Linked DNA regions of Homo sapiens: region 1 is linked to region 2. The links are contacts of gene promoters, found by promoter capture Hi-C in human tissues and cell types (Jung and others, 2019). All regions are on one chromosome and are shown on one strand. The core of a region is centred on a gene start or on the middle of the fragment in contact, and the rest is flanking DNA. Distances in the headings are between cores, read along the strand shown.

Evidence for each region. The method cuts DNA at HindIII sites, captures the fragments that hold promoters and counts their contacts. A contact is called where the count stands out against the background at its distance.
Region 1: a fragment that was not itself captured here is called in contact with the fragment with the promoter of TSPAN13 in region 2 in 1 of the 25 tissues and cell types used here (mesendoderm cells).

Annotation. Positions count from the first base shown.
Region 1 is chr7:16,273,511-16,277,521 of GRCh38, forward strand. The region is part of intron 6 of CRPPA (CDP-L-ribitol pyrophosphorylase A); the gene reads right to left. Among named protein-coding and RNA genes, the nearest start is that of CRPPA-AS1, 65 kb to the left of the region's middle. The HindIII fragment of the contact is 3,442 bases long and covers 873-4,011 here.
Region 2 is chr7:16,751,249-16,755,590 of GRCh38, forward strand. It overlaps TSPAN13 (tetraspanin 13), which reads left to right and starts at 2,507. Exons shown (of 6, transcript NM_014399.4): 1 at 2,507-2,782. The coding sequence starts at 2,720. The HindIII fragment of the contact is 15,712 bases long and covers 1-4,342 here.

The DNA of each region.
Region 1 (4,011 bases), core at 1,344-3,843, 480 kb before region 2:
GCCAAACTCCAGGGGAAGACCACCTTTCCACTCCATCCCCTTTCCAGCACCGCATCCCACTGAAAGCCACTTCCACTCGTCAGTAAATCCTCCACATTCACCACCCTTCAATTAACTGATGCAGCCTGATTCCTCCCGGACACCGAACAAGAACTCTGGTACCAAGAGGGCTGGTGCAAAAGGTTGTCATCCTACCCTCCACTGAGCTGTTAAACACTTAAGCTGTTTGTAGACAGCAAAGGTAAAAGAGCACAATGTAACACACGTCCTCTGGGGCTTCAGGGGTCATGGATACCCTGCTAGATGTAGCCATGGAGCTGCATGAAGTTCTATTCCTGCCATCGCGCCCAGAAGGACTTGTCCTGGCCTCTGTACCTGCTCACCTGCATGCTCCCTGTCCCATGAGAGGTGGAGAGCTGTGGGCTGATTAAATGAGCCAACCCCTTAGCCAGTCCTGCGAAGGGGCCAGGGGAACTGCCCATTTCAGTACTACTCCTGACACTCCATAATCAGTGTTGTGGCTGTTTTTGTTTTTGTTTTTGTTTTGTTTTGTTTTTGAGACGGAGTCTCGCTCTGTCGCCCAGGCTGGAGTGCAGCGGCGCGATCTCGGCTCACTGCAACCTCTGCCTCCCGGGTTCACGACATTCTCCTGCCTCAGCCTCCCGAGTAGCTGGGACTACAGATGCCCACCACCACGCCCAGCTAATTTTTTGTATTTTTAGTAGAGACAGGTTTCACCGTGTTAGCCAGGATGGTCTCGATCTCCTGACTTCGTGATCCGCCCACCTCGGATCCCAAATTGCTGGGATTACGGACGTGAGCCACCACACCCGGCCTGTTGTGGCTGTTTCTAAGAGAAAGCATTCTCTTAAGTTTGTGTGGCATAACAGGTTTTTAAACTTTTAATTCTTTTTAACCAAATTTAGAAGTCAGGGAAGGCTTAGCAGGAACGATATCTCCTTTCAAGGTGAACCAAGATTCTCTGAGTAAAATAACAGGACACCCAAAGTTCAGTTTTAGAAGTTCTACATTAGCTCCTCATTAAAAAAAAATAAAAAGTCTAATTTATCTCCAAAAAGGAAGATATTAAATTAAGAAATTTTTGAGGAATGGTGATTTTCTTACTTTTGAATATATGAATACTTCTTAGTTTTATTATATGAAGGAAATCCCTAACTTCAAGCCAAACCTAATTTTTTAAAAATTCCAAATTTGCTATGTCTGTCTATATTTATAGACGAATTAGATACTTGAAATTAAAAGAGAAATTTAAGTGATCTTTAAAAATTATAAATGGCCAGGAGAGCACACGAACAATAAAGGGGAGAAAGATTCTGGAAACCTAGAAATATGATTTTAGTCTTTGAATCTCTGCAGACCCTTCATAAAAACAGAAAAAGCAAGGAGGATATCAAAGCCAAAAACCTATAGACATTATCTACTATAAAACCAATATTTGGGAGGCTGAGGCACGAGAATCATTTGAACCTGGGAGGCGTAGGTTGTGGTGAGCTGAGACCATGCCACTGCACTCCAGCCTGGGCAACTGAGTGAGACAGTGTCTAAAAAAAAATAATATTAGTGGGTAGGGATAAATTGGCAGCACATATAAAGACACACACAGTTTAAGAAACTGTAGAAAAAAATGGGAGTAAACCAAGAAAGACAGAAAACAACAAAATCATCATCAGATACTTTCTGGATACCTTAGCAGGCCATTCCATTCTGGGAATAGCAACAGAAACTAGGAGAAGCCTTTGTAGGCTTTAATTCAAAGTTGAAAACAAGGAAGCCACATGAACGTTCTCTGCTAGGGATAACTGGGGGTCTGGGTCCAAAGCACATTCAAAACCAATAAACAGAAGCACCGTAGTATGTTAAAGCACCAGCCTGAGAAGTCTAGATGGACCAAGGGAGGTGCACTAGGAATAAAGGAAAGAGAAAGTACAGGCAAAGGACGGCCACGGAGGTGTTATTTTGACTCATCCCTTCCTCCTAAAACTAGATAAAACTCTTCTACTTAAAAAGGAACAATAGGGCTAGGTGCAATGGTCATGCCTGTATTTCCGCCCTTTGGGAGGCCAACGTGAGAGGATCACTTGAGGCCAGGAGTTTGAGACCAGCCTGGGCAACATGTGGAGACTCCTGTCTCTACAAAAAGGAAAAAAAAAATTAGCTGGGCATTGCAGTGTGTGCCTGTGGTCCCAGCTACTCAGGAAGATGAGATGGGAGGATCGCTTGAGCCCAGCAGGCCAAGGCCAAGGCTGCAATGAGCCATGATAGTACCAAGACCCTGTCTCGGAAAAAAACAAAAACAAAAACAAACAAAAAATATATATATATGAATGACAGAAAGAAAGAAAAAAAAAGACTAAACAGCAAAATAATGTACCTACAGAAACCCATGCACATCAGAAAGACCCAGTCATAAAATAAATGAAGACTGTAACCCAATATTTAATAAGCTAAAAGAAATTAAGAAAATGACAGAACTATAAAAGTCAGACTTGGAATAACTTAGAAACAAGGCGAGAAAATTTAAAAAATATTTCAGAAATGAAGACTAAATTAGAAAAAACACAAAAGGTAATGACTGAACAGAAATAAAAGACGGGAAGTAAGAAAATTAAAAAGAAATTAAGAGATTAGAAAAACTCAGGAGAATGTAATAGCTGTGGATGGCCAAAGAACATGTAAGCTTCATCCAACAGGAATCTCTGAAGAAAACTGAAGTAACCAAACAGAAAAAAACTAAAGAAATAATGTCAAATAAAAAGATTCGAAACTACACAGAAGCATCCACTATGTACCTAGCAATATCAGCCAAAATGACTATAATTAAGAAAACTGTAGTAAAACAAATGGACTTTAAAGGAAAAGAATTATTTGAGCATCCAGGCAAATAGACTAAATCACTTATAAGACAAAGAAAGTCAGATTTTCATCACACTTGACCAAAACACTTTATGACAAAAGAAAATAGACTGGCATATTGAAGATACTCAACAAAAAATTACTGAATTAAGATTGCTTTTAATCTAGCCAAAACCACCTTGAAGATTTTGAGCAAAAGAATAATTTTATTCACATCGAAGAACTTGGGAATACTGTGCCCATGAGCCCTCACTAGAGCATCTATTGGAGGATTAGTTCCAGAAAACCAAAATGATTTTTAAGGTATCAACATAAGGATTGTAGTGGCTATCACATATATATTTACTTATATGACTAAGAATAAACAATTGTTTAAGGGAGATAGTAGGTAATGACATGAATGTAAGAATATATACAGTAAGAAAGTTCACTGTCATCTTTCAGCTATAAACTTTAAATTAAAGCATACTAATTCAAATTAGATTCTTTAGAAAGGAGGAGGTAGAAGACACTGGTTAATTTGTTAATTTTAACAACTCATGTATCCAGTACAGCACTGAAGTATGGGAACTAACAGTCTGTACTATCTAATACTGTCACACCACTCTGCCAACTTATCACTGAAAGTTTAATTATAGTTCAAATGCATTGAAAACGTACTGCATGCCAGATGCTTCTCTAAGCACTTTAAATATATTCATTTTATTCAACTCACCCAGCAACTTTAGAACATAGATGTTATTAACAGTTTCAATTTACAGATAAGGAAATTAGGAAACAGAGCTAACATCCAAAGTGCAAGCAGTCTGATAACAGAGCCTGTTCTCTTTCCAACTGTGCTATCATGATAAAATTACACAGCTAATGGGCATGGTGGAGGCTGAGGCAGGAGAATCACTTGAACCCAGAAGGTGGAGGTTGCAGTGAGCTGAGATCACACCACTATACTCCAGCTTGGCAACAGAGTGAGACTCCATCTCAAAAAAAAAAAAAAAAAAAAAAAATTACACAGCTAAAATCAACTTTTACCCTCTACTTTTGATGAGAATTATGTACGTTGTCAAAAGGTCATCACATATTGAACATAAACTTGGATTAGAAGTTATATATTTTAATGAAAACAGAAATTAATTAAAA
Region 2 (4,342 bases), core at 1,257-3,756:
TTTAGTAGAGATGGGGTCTCACTATGTTGTCCAGACTGCTTGTTCTTATTAGGGTGGGAACAAATGGTCTTTTGAAAATTTCTATATCCAAATCAGGAGAAATTGCAACATGTCCATTTGTTTTCCTATTTTCAGACATTGTTTTGTTTCCTCTATCAAAAGCCGTATCTCCTATCAGACAACTCTCCTACAACTATAGCTCTTGCCTGGCTTCTGTAACTGTTCCCTTAAATCACCCCCTTAGTCTTAGGGGTAATTAGAACTTCCTGCTCTTACTATCTCTGAGCTGCCTCATCATGCTTTGTTGGTTTCCTTTTCTTTTTGAGACAGAATTTCACTCTGTCACCCAGGCTGGAGAGCAGTGGCGCGATCTTGGCTCACTGCAACCTCCACCTCCTGGGTTCAAGTGATTCTCCTGCCTCAGCCTCCCAAGTAGCTGGGATTACAGGTGCCCGCTACCACGCCTGGCTAATTTTTGTAGTTTTAGTAGAGACGGGGTTTCACCATGTTGGTCAGTCTGGTCTCAAACTCCTGACCTCAGGTGATCCACTACCCTCGGCCTCCCAAAGTGCTGGGATTACAGGTGTGAGCCACCGCACCCAGCCGGTTTCCTTTAACTTTGTCCACACTTTTGAAAATAGTCCCTTTTTGAAATTCTTCTCAGTTATGCTATTTGAACGAGTCATCTCCTTTTTGCTGGGACCCTGACTGATAGGTGGTACTTCTCTGGGAAAACAAAGTGATTCAGCCTATAGGGAGATAGTGAAGATATTATGCAGAAGCCAAAGAGAGAGTTGCAATAGTTGGTTGAGTGATAGTTGAAGTGGTACTAATGTTGGTGACACCCAGGAATGGGAAGAGAATGAATAGATTTCCCTGCCAATGCCTCATCTTTTGTAAACCTCTGGCTATTAAAAAGGAAAGTTGAGCATCATCAAAGCATTGTTTGTGTTTGAGGATCATTTTCCAGGTTAGTTTTTGAAATATTTCTAGCTGTATATAAAAGGTTAATGTGGAATAGAAAGCCTAACAAATTAATGAGGTCTTGTTGGTATGGTGGGGTCAGGGGAGGGAAGGAGAGGCTGGAAGAGGGAGCAGAGAATTCTAAGAAGACGAATTATTTTAATCAGCTGCAATGTTTAATTTAATTTAATACAATTTAGCATTTGCAATTACATAATTTACTCCGTATGAACCTTTAGGTTAGATATAGTATTGTAAACTTGCAAATCTCTTTATAAAACCTTTTTCTTTGGTAGAAACTACTATGAAGTAAATAAACCTTTATTGCCTTCGCTTAGTGCCTGGAACACAGTAGGCCTTTACAAAATGTCAGATCTATGAATACTAGCTGACATTTATTGAGGCCTTCCCCTGTGCCAGCCACTATGCAAAAAGTGCTTGACATACTTCTAAAATCTCAATTTATAGGTGAGGAATTAAGGATACAAGATGCATTTCTATAGTAGAGAAGCAGTAAACTGATAATGAATTAATTGAGGTGAAGTCTGAGTTATTTGAAGATTTTCAGTTATTTTTGTGAAAAAATAAGTTTATTGAAATTCACGACCAGAACACAAAAATAATCTCTCTTGATTTTCTTTTTAAAATTTTTTAAAAAACTTTTGTTGACACGTAGCAGATGTATATATTTACGGGGTACATGAGATGTTTTGATACAGGCATGCAATGTGAAATAAGCACATCACGGAGAATAGGGTATCCATCCTCTGAAACATTTATCCTTTGAGTTACAAACAATCCAATTACATTCTTTAAGTTATTTTAAAATACACAATTAAGTTCTTATTAACGATTGTCACTTTATTGTGCTATCAAATAGTAGGTCTTATTCATTCTTTCTATTTTTTTGGACCTATTAACCATCCCCACCTTCTCCCGCTCTTGATTTTCCTTTGCATGCATGTATTCATAAAGTTTATTAGTATTTTGCAAATCTTTGTAGGATAAGTCTGACCTGTCCAGGTCACAATTATAGGGCACATATCTTATTTTCTGAGAGAAGCAGGGATTTTATTTTATTTTTTATTGTTTCACTTATTTTCTCCCTTTCATTTGCCTCTACTTCGTTCTCTTTTAAATCTTTCACATGTTTTCATTCATTACTTGCTTCCTGCCTTCCTTCCCTCAAACAAGGCCAGGTGCTTAGTTTTGAAATCTCATTCAAAATGGTGCCACGTCATCTGCCAGGGCCAAGAATCCAGAGGTGCTGTCATATTTCTCCTTGCCAGCGTGGATCTCCTCCGAGCCCCGCCCTCCCTCCTCACCTGCTCCTGGGGAAACTACACCAAGGCCGCCGCTCTGGCCTGGGGCTCCCTCCCACACGGCCTTGGCCCTCTCCCCCTCGCCCCGGGACCGCTCCGCCCCTCCCGGATCCCGGTCGGCGGAGCGCATTTATTTGCATATTTCTACCTTTGTTCCCTGCCAGCGGCCAATCAGCGCGCGGGGCGAGACGAAGGGGCTGGGCGGGGCTCGGGCTCCTGCTCCGGCTCAGCTGCGGCGGCCGCAGGTTCCAAAGCGGGTCCGAGCCGCCGCCGCGCGCGCGCCGCGCACTGCAGCCCCAGGCCCCGGCCCCCCACCCACGTCTGCGTTGCTGCCCCGCCTGGGCCAGGCCCCAAAGGCAAGGACAAAGCAGCTGTCAGGGAACCTCCGCCGGAGTCGAATTTACGTGCAGCTGCCGGCAACCACAGGTTCCAAGATGGTTTGCGGGGGCTTCGCGTGTTCCAAGAACTGCCTGTGCGCCCTCAACCTGCTTTACACCGTGAGTATCCCCAGTCCGTTCCTGCTCGCTTGGGGGCTTTGCACCTGCTTGGGAGCTCTTTGGCTTCCCTGCCTGGTCAGCGACTCACTCGTTGCATCCCGCGCCCCCTTCCCGGCTTCCCACGTCTGCGCGCCCCCGGCCTCACCATCCGTCCCCGCCGGGGACCGGGCGCCGGCGCTTGTCGCAGTCTCTTCCTTTCGTTCATTGTGAAGCCGCGGTCTCTCAGGCTCGCTGGCCGCGTCTCTGCCACATTGCTCCACCCCGCCCCCTCACCCACCGCCTTGTTTTTCAAACATTCAACCGGACCTCTCCGCTTTCCCACCCCGTACCCTTCTGCCGCTCGCTCCTGACATCCAGACGCATCTGGGCCAGGCGTGGAGGCGCGAGAGCCGTCAGGGCTTGCGGACAGTTTTGCGGAATGGCGTGGCCTGAAACTGACGAGGCGGCATATGGCTGGTGTGCCTCTGGGTTAGCTCTTGGTACCCTCGGGATTTTAATTGAGGCCACTGAGTAGGTTCACAGGATGTCCGCTGCTTCCGAAGTTTGTTTCGTGCTCACAGTAAAGGGATGTCTTTTTGTTTTTGTTGTTGTCAGTTTTGCTAGTACTTGGTGCTTTTTCTGTGTGTCTTGTCCATGATCAATATCCTAACTCCATTTTAAACCAAGTCCTCCAGGAAATAAGCGAGCCCCCACCCAAGTCGTTTCTTTCCCTGCCAACCAGCTTGGGCCTCTTAGTTTTAACGCTGCAGGCTCTCTTTGTGATTTTTTGAGGCGCAATTCTGGGTGAACAGGAGGATGGGCAGGACAGATCGACATTTATTGAATGCCTATCACGTCCCAGGTTTTACATACACAATGCTCGTTCATCATTCTGACAACCTTCTGAGGGAATGGGGCATTATCTGCATTTTATACATAAGGTAACAGACCAAAAAGGTTTTAGTAAGTTTACATAGCTGGTAGTTGACGAGTCAGGAGTGGAACCTAGGCTGTGGAATCCAGATCTTTCCACAGGCTGTCTCTACCGGGCGGAAGAAACTTCCTCTTCTGTCATCATCCCTCCATAGTAGTCTTGCTCCCTTCTATAAATATACCTGGCGCTTTGCAGCACCCACCCTGAAAACAAACCCAGCACCCCTGCATTAGCAGAGAGCTAGGCCATCTGTGCAAGCTTAGATTACCTCCTTGGAATAGAGAGGCTGCCTTGTGGTCACCAACAGGAGAAGGAGGTTGGGTCATTTTACCTTTACTGTTCCTTTGTATGTGAACATGACTGCAAGCTTTGAAGGCAAGACAGAAACAGGCATTGAGTACGCTTTTATGGCTAGTTAGTAAGAATCTGGTCAACATGGTCATTAATAGTAGACTTGGGAAAAAAATTTTAGAACACCTGGTGATACAGTTCCTTGGAGATACATGTCAAGTTTCAGATCAAAATTCATCTGTATCACCCTGAGGTATGCTTATCACCCTGGCTGTTTATTAAGTAAATGCTGACCAGTTCTCTAGGGTTTTTTTTTTTTTTTTTAAATCAGTGTGAGTGGCCTGCTTGGAACTTTA